Regions from separate parts of the Homo sapiens genome. Here region 1 is linked to region 2. The links are contacts of gene promoters, found by promoter capture Hi-C in blood cells and fetal thymus (Javierre and others, 2016). All regions are on one chromosome and are shown on one strand. Each heading gives the region's core, a stretch centred on a gene start or on the middle of the fragment in contact. The rest is flanking DNA. Distances are from core to core; before and after follow the strand shown. Region 1 overlaps MARCHF3 (membrane associated ring-CH-type finger 3). Region 2 holds the start of MARCHF3 (membrane associated ring-CH-type finger 3).

The links. The method cuts DNA at HindIII sites, captures the fragments that hold promoters and counts their contacts. A CHiCAGO score of 5 or more calls a contact.
Region 1: a contact is called between a fragment that was not itself captured here and the fragment with the promoter of MARCHF3 in region 2, in 4 of 17 cell types (naive B cells, total B cells, erythroblasts and 1 more). The highest score is 10.7, in naive B cells.

Annotation. Positions count from the first base shown.
Region 1 is chr5:126,976,940-126,980,862 of GRCh38, reverse strand. The region is part of intron 1 of MARCHF3 (membrane associated ring-CH-type finger 3); the gene reads left to right. Among named protein-coding and RNA genes, the nearest start is that of MARCHF3, 52 kb to the left of the region's middle. The HindIII fragment of the contact is 1,988 bases long and covers 1,573-3,560 here.
Region 2 is chr5:127,028,867-127,033,030 of GRCh38, reverse strand. It overlaps MARCHF3 (membrane associated ring-CH-type finger 3), which reads left to right and starts at 2,473. Exons shown (of 5, transcript NM_178450.5): 1 at 2,473-2,681. It overlaps LOC105379163 (a long non-coding RNA gene), which reads right to left and starts at 1,688. Exons shown (of 2, transcript XR_007058920.1): 1 at 1-1,688. RefSeq lists an enhancer at 1,591-2,135 and a silencer at 2,132-2,511. The HindIII fragment of the contact is 7,560 bases long and covers 1-4,164 here.

The sequences.
Region 1 (3,923 bases), core at 1,317-3,816, 52 kb after region 2:
TAGAGATGCTAACAAACAAAAACTTAAAATACTAATCTTACCTCTCCTTCATGCCTATAGTATGCCACACTGGGCAGAAGATGGTTCTGGATGTTCCCCAGATGAAACTAAGTTTGCAAACTGGTGGCCCACAGGCCCACCTAACCATAGATGTGTTTTATTTGGCCTGTGCTGGGGTTTTAAAAAATATTTGAGGCCAGGCGTGGTGGCTCACACCTGTAATCCCAGCACTTTGGGAGGCTGGGGCGGGCAGATCATGAGGTCAGGAGATTGAGACGATCCTGGCCAATATGGTGAAACCCTGTCTCTACTAAAATACAAAAAATTAGCCGAGCCTGGTGGTGCGCACCTGTAGTCCCAGCTATTCAGGAGGCTGAGGCAGGGGAATCACTTGAACCCGGGAGGCAGAGATTGCAGTGAGCCAAGATTGCGCCACTGCACTCCAGCCTGGCAACAGAGTGAGACTCCATCTCAAAAAAAAAAAAAAGGAATGAATCATCAACATCTCAAACTCAAGAGATTCTACATAAAATCTGTGTTTCTGGCTTCTCTTAAAATTCTAAAGATCTAGTCACCCTGGGCCAAGGAGTGGCTATTCCCTTCATAATGGATTAGGGCTCCCACATGGCTGCCCCAGTTCACATTCACACCCAGCCCACTTGTCACTTCCAGGATCTACTAGTCTCTGCAGGCATTTGAGTTTGGCATCCCCAACAGAGAAGGTGCGCAGAAGAGGAAAGATTTTGCTTTCCTTATAGATGTTCGTGGTGACATCTCTGTGTCAGTAAGAAGTTTGATCCACTAATGAGCAAGATTGTTATACACAAGAGTTCTGGAATCAGAGACAGGTGAAATAGGCTCAATTAGTATACAGGATTTCACTTTCATTTCTTTTTTTTTTTTTTTTTTTTTTTGAGATGGAGTTTGGCTCTTGTTGCCCAGGCTGGAGTGCAATGGTGCAATCTCGGCTCACCTCAACCTCCACCTCCCGGGTTCAAGCGGTTCTCCTGCCTCAGCCTCCCGAGTAGCTGGGATTACAGGCATGCACCACCAAACCTGACTAATTTTGTATTTTTAGTAGAGACAGGGTTTCTCCATGTTGGTCAGGCTGGTCTCAAACTCCTGATCTCAGGTGATCTGCCCGCCTCAGCCTCTCAGAGTGCTGGGATTACAGGCGTGAGCCACTGCGCCTGGCCTCACTTTCATTTCTAATAAGGAATAAAGACCATTTCAAAATTAGAAAACTCTAAGGAAAAACACACTTAAATGGAGGACAGGTAACCTGAGTTCCTGATGCAGCTGCCCTGCCCCCATGCTGATACCTAGTGTCTTTACCTACATAATGGAAAGTGTTAACCATCATTCAGCATTCATTCCCTTAACAAGATTTATATAGAGTGGTTGACATCGAGGGTTTACAGTCTTCCCAAAATGGATCTGCATTTAAGACTTCGTTTTCCTCACCTATCAAATAAGGAATGAAATCACAAACACCTCAGTGTGTGACATACTCTGAATACCCAGTTATTGTGAGCTCTTATTATTTGTTAAGTACCAGATGTTTGCCAAGCTTTGTGCTAGACCTTAGAAATACAAAAACACAGAAACATGTGGTCCATGTCCTAAAGAGCCGCAGTCTGGTTGAGGAAGTAAATTCTGGGCTAACAAGTAGAGTCAGCAACCTAAACAAAAGCCCCTCAGAATGACTGTACTGTTGAAACATAAATAGGACTGATAAAGCCCCAGGTTATTACAACATCATATTAAATTAAGGAAAGTCCGTGTGCAACACCTACCTTGAGAAATAAACATGTATATACATATCTAAATATGATAGAGGTAACAAAAGTTTTCAATAATAGGATTTTTCTTAGGGGAGTTCCACATCAGACTTCTAAATCCAAGGTTCTTGACATCTGGAGTGGAGTCTTCCCATTGATAGTTCAGCCAGAGCCCTTGCTCCAGAAAATGTATGTACACAATAGTTTGCATAACATTCCAGGGATCTGAGAGCCCCAGAAGCCCATCCATGAGGCCTGCTCCATGTAGTTCCTCACTGGGCTGGTCACACAGTACATAAAAGCAGTGGCTCCAAAAGAGGTGCTCAGTTACAGAAGAGAGAGAGCCGCTCATAGAAACAGTCAGGGCAGTTCTGTGTGAGAGCAAAAAGCCGAGTTGCATAGAGGTCCAGTGGGCAGTGAGGGGAATGTTGAATGAAGAAAACGTCTTTTTTCTTTTCTTAGATAATGCTGATATGCCTGTAACAACTAATGTAGTCAGAACGAGTACTTCATATATCTGTCACATGTTTAATTGTGGACACTCTGACATCTTATCTTCTCTCCTGTGATCCTTTCACCTTTTTCATAAATCTCTGTTATCTAGGTATGAAAAGAAACCTTAGTATCTACTAAGCCAAAACATCCTTTCACATAGGGTTGATCTGGCTTTTTGTTCTTTTTCCCCCACTCTTTCCCTATTCTTCAACATTCCATTCCCAATATGTCCAGAACTAATTCTGCATGGGACCTAATTATCGGTTGGTGACCCGAATGGGGCTGGTCACTCTGGGCAGTCTCTCTCTCCTTGGCCCTTTCTGGCCTTTAGGTCACATGTAGTACTTTATCAGTTCCCTCCAAAATAAATCCAGCTGCAAAAGTATTGGAAAATAAGGTAGGTTTTACTGAGGGTTTTGGGGGTAGAGTGAAAAGAAAACTCACCACGTGAAGACAAAACATCACAAGATTCCCAACATACAATACTCAACTGCCAAAGCCTTTCTCTTGGGGGCCAGCCCCTCATCTTTCCTCGGCTCTACCTGCCTTCCCCACACTCTTGCTCTGTACTTGTGCTAATTCAGAGAATATAGCTCCCTCAGCTTCTCCAATTTTGCTTTCTCATATCTGTTAGTTACTTAATACTGCCTTGAATTATGAGAAAGCCTCTATGCTAAGGATGACAATTTTTGTTTGTACCCCTAATCACAAATGTCTTTGTGTTTTACTTAATACATTGAAGGCATCCTTGATGTTAGGACATGTATATTAATCTTGCATTTCGGAATGGCCGAATAGTGTTGCCTTGTATACATGCAACATGCTGTGTTTAGCCATTCCTGTACACTTACCTTATTTCTTTTTCTTTTTTCTATTATAAACAAGCTGCAATCAAACATATATTGCACACTTATATGAGTATGACTGTAGGATAAATTTCTGGAATTGATATTTCTGTGTCATGAATATATGCATTGTAATATTTAGTAGTTATTGCTCTCTAGAAATTTATCTTCCAAGCAACGGTGTGAAAGAGATCTGTTTCAGTTTTCCATAAAACCCCATTTTTATGTTTGTTTACCTTATTTTATGTTTGCCGATTCCTTGATTTAGGAAGGGCTTAAGGTGGCTGGCAAGGAAATATACATTAGAGGTAGATGGGTTGGGGGTAGAAGTGAAAAATGAAAGGTAAGAATATAAAATGGACCAGTGATTAAGATTATTATAAAAATTCATTCAGGTTTATTCTATGCCCTAGGTGACCTTCAGGTTTGGTGCTAAGCTTTCCAGCAGCCAAGGCAAAGAGGGGAGTCAATTATATAAGCCACTACTAAAACAAAGCTGTGCCTTGGGGTCCTTATAAAAATGAAAAAGGACTTTGTACAGGGCAACAGTAACTTCAGCAGCATGACTTCATGTGATCCCCTCAGCACCTCTGTATCTGCTATTTACCTCGGACCCAAAACATGTTGCCCTAGAGCAGAGCTCTGCCTTCAGTCATGTACGTGCTGATTATGTTGGGTGGACAGCAGTCTGGCCAAAACTGATAAAACCTGTGCCTCCAAATGTGGCCTGATAGCAGGGCATTAAGAGCAGGCATCACCTCTCATATACATAGACCTTCCTTTCTCTTCAAAGCTCCTAGGA
Region 2 (4,164 bases), core at 1,224-3,723:
AATCCAAGGAAGTATATTTCTTCCATGAGCATTTCCTGATAATTCTAGTCAAAGATGACGTTTCATGGCAGCCTCCGTGAAAGCAAACAGAAGAGCACAATTTTAAAAACACATCAAAGTGGAGTTCTGCTGGAATCAGGTTGGGAGTCAAGTCTTCTCTCTCTTTGGCCTTCTCTCCTGTAAGGCACCTCCAGCCATGTCCTTGCCCAATCCAGACCTGGGCAGAAACCTGGTGAATATTCCATTCATGTGGTCTACATCTAATACTTTATGGGCAAAGGCCATTCTCCTAGGCCAGTCAGCAGCATGCTAAGGAACCTCTGGAATTGAGTCAGATGGTCTTCCTTGCCTGTAGCAGTCCTTTGGTCCACAAGATAGAAAATAAAGAACTTAAGGCTGGGCGCAGTGGCTCACGCCTCTAATCCCAGCACTTTGGGAGGCCGAGGCGGGCGGATCACAAGGTCAGGAGATCGAGACCATCCTGATTAACACGGTGAAACCCCGTCTCTACTGAAAATACGAAAAATTAGCCGGGCGTAGTGGCGGGCGCCTGTAGTCCCAGCTACTTGGGAGGCTGAGGCAGGAGAATGGCGTGAACCCAGGAGGCGGAGCTTGCAGTGAGCCAAGCCATAGCACTCCAGCCTGGGCGACAGAGTGAGACTCTGCCTCAAAAAAAAAAGAAAAGAAAAGAAAGAACTTAAATATGGACAATGTTTGCATTACTGAGCAATTTTTCAGGGTCTGCAAAGGGCTATCCCTGCCCTAGTCTCCTGCCCTTCTGACAACCTTCCTATGGACCTTTTCCCATTGAGAAATGGAGCTGAGGAGACAGAATTGAAACTCAAACCAGGCCAGAGCTCACCTAAGAGGGGCCATTTCACTCCTTTTCAGCCACCAGCCCTTTACATTCCTTCTCCCTGGTGACCTCATCAGAACCTTCTCATGAGAGGTCAGCTATGATGCAAGACCTTATAGAGGCCAGATGGCATTGAAATAACACCTTGCAGCTCCCTTACATGTGAATAATTGCCCATACTGAGAGACTAAAACCCTTAGGACTTCTGGGACCTGAATGAGGCAATGGTCTGAAGTGGGCTTGCGCTGGAAGCAAGACGTAAGTGGTGAAGGTGAGTATCAGGGCAGCAGGTTGACCCCTTTCTTGTTATGAGCATGCATTCCTTCATTCTTACTAATACGGGTTAGGTGCCTACCCATGGCAAGAGCAGTTCTAGGCAGGGAGAGGCCCCTACCCACCCACAGCTGACGGTCTAGGGCTTGTTTACATTCTAGGTTTCAGCGGGAAAGCAAGAACACCCAACTCCCTGCTTTTGATTCTATGTTAGTAGCTCAGCGCGCCTGTGCGAGCACGTGCTGCAGCCAGGGTAGGGGCTCAGAAACTGGTTGACAAGATGAGCAGTGGGGTCCTAGGGGGTTGGGCGGGAAGGGCCCACAAGGCCATATTCCAGGCTGTTCGGCTGCGAGTGACCCCTGAGAGGTCGGGATCTCCGAGCTCGTCCGATGTCTCCATCCCAGCCAGGAGCTTGCGAAGGGGAAGGAGGGCGGAAGCAGAGTGGGACAGATGTGGTTCGTTCTGGGGCTTCCTGTCCACGAAGATGGATAATTCTAGCGACCCGCCTGGGATTTTGGAATCCTGGCGGACCCAAAAGACAGCAGAAGTCACCGCAGAGGATGCCACCCCGCACGGCAGCCCGCCCAGAGCGACGGTCTCACAGGTTCCGGCGCCGTCGAGCGCCCAAGCCTCCTGTTGGCCGCCAGCTGTGTCCGCGACGCGCTGGGTCGGGAGGAGGAGACCCGAGGCGCCGGTAAGTCCCCCGCTGCAGGTGGCCCGGAGGGCAGGGGTGAGGACGGGGACGTGTACTGAACTTTGGGAGGTTTGCGGGGCTGGAGTTTTGTTTCAGAGATAGCCAGATCGAGATCAGAACGTTTTCCAGAGAGCCCAGGTTTCCACTTGTGGCTGGGCGACCCGGTCCGGAATTCATCCTTTCTCGGCCCTCAGCTTCCTCCGGGCGGGGTTCCGATGGGGCAGCTAAGTTCCGCGCCTCCTGCCGGTGCCAGATACTGGCGTGTCGACCCGCGCTGCGGTTGGCTTCTTGCTCCACAGCGCTATGCGCGCGGCGGCTCCGAGGGCTCCTGGTCTCTCTCAGCCAACGGCCTTCTGGGGCCGCCGCCTCCCTCTAGAGCTGCTCGGGTCCCATTGCAGAGAGTCCCGCAGCGCCCGCCGGCAGCCACGGCACTTCGCAATAACCAACTTCCCCGCCGCCGGCGCGTCCCGCCAGCCTGCCCTCGGCCGCAGGCGACTGGACGGCGGTTACGGGGCGGTCCCAGCGCCACCACGACTGGCTGTCGGCTCCGCCAGTCATGGGCTGATGACGCCCCGGGGCTGGCTCCGCCCCTAGCGGCAGCCCCGCCTCCCCTCCAGAGCCTGGTCGGCTTAGCCCTGCTTTCCGCCTCACTCGTTGAGCAGGTCCGTGAATTGTCAGCGCGCTGTGGGCGACTGTGTGGCCGCGGCGGCCGCCAGGCTTGCCGCACTCCCCCTGAGGTGCCCGCCGGAACCAATGTGCCCTGGTCCACTGGGCCGTGAGCAGCCACCGACTGGGGGCAACTTGGCACTTAGAACCGCAGCAGGGACGTCGGTTTGCTATCGGGACTCGGCGAGGACGGTGAGTGGCCGCGCGCCGGGCTAGCGGCTCCTCTCGGCGCGGTTCGGCGGCGGCGAGAGGGGACGGGACGCGTCCTGGCGCTCGGCGGTCCGTTCGTCCGAGCGTGACCGCTGTGGGGAGGTCAGGGCTGGGCGGGATTTACTCCGTGCCAATATCCCCACTCCCGAACTTCTTCTTGTCAAAGCATCCCAACTCCGCCCGGGACGCGGTTCCAGTCCGCACCAACTTGGCGTAATTGACATGGGTAGGTGGGGCCGGGACGCGTCCCCTGCCCCTCTGCGGCAACGACATGGAGCGCTGGGGCGGCCTCCGCGCCCGCGGCGTGCGGACCGCGGTTCCTGAAAAATTACCCGCGCTGTGCGGTACGGTAAGACCCGGCGTCCGCGTCTGGATCTCAAGGCTGAGCGAGCGCTCATCGGGCTCAAGGTGGGTCTCAGCGCCAGAGAACTGGAGTACCAGCCGGGTTCTGTAGCGGGGGCTTCAGTGCTCTGCAGCTACTGAGAGGAATTGAGAGCACTGCTGGGCTTTGAACTTTCTAAAGTAATTGCTTTCTATTAGCACTTGAATCCATGACCCTCCTGAGGTGCTCGGACCTCCACATCCACCCGCAAGGGGTGTCCGAAGGACTTCGTTAGGACCAGGCGGGAGCTGCTGTCGGTTCTGGTGCCCAGTGCCTTGGAGAATCCTAGAGGCTGCGAAAGGGATTGCCAGCCTGGTCGGTTGGTGTTTGTTTGAGCACCTGCGTGTTTAAGTGATGAAGTTGAGTCAGGAATTGACAGCAGAGAACTCAAGGTTAAACCTGACACTCCGTTTGTGACTCGGTCTGGGTTAGATTGTTTTCCCCCCTTAATGGTAAGGGGGTAAAAGCAGCTTGTTTTTCTGAGACCAACTACATGCATGTAGTTTATATTATGTGCGGAATAAACAGAATTCAATACGATATTTTCTTACAATTCTTATTTGACATGAATAAGAGCTTTTGAAAATACTAGACAGAAACAGGTCCAGAATTTGGGGATGTTTAGACCTTTGAAAATACATGAAAATGTTGAGATATATAGTTCTGTATGTGTATATGAAGATGTAGATGCGCATATACACACATACATACGTGTATATGTGTGAGTGTGTGTATATATAAAATTAAAAGGTGAATGAGGTAAATATATGAAGGGGAAATTCAGCCTTGAACTTCCCTTGGGTCACAGAGATGGATCCTCTGAGCTGTGGGGTGTTAGTGAGTGTGTATGCGTAAGCATGTCTGCATCTGCCTGGTCTGTCTGGGTCAGAGTATGTCCATGAACTTTACGAGCGTTCAGTTCAATACCACTCAGTGCAGAATCCGCGTTCCTGTTTTACAGCCCAGCAGCCGCCAGCCGGCCCATCTGTTAAAACATAACATGTACACTTCAGTCCGACCACTGGGGTGGAGCCTGGGTAGGGGGCAACTCTTAGCAGAAACAACATGCTACAAACAAAGCCT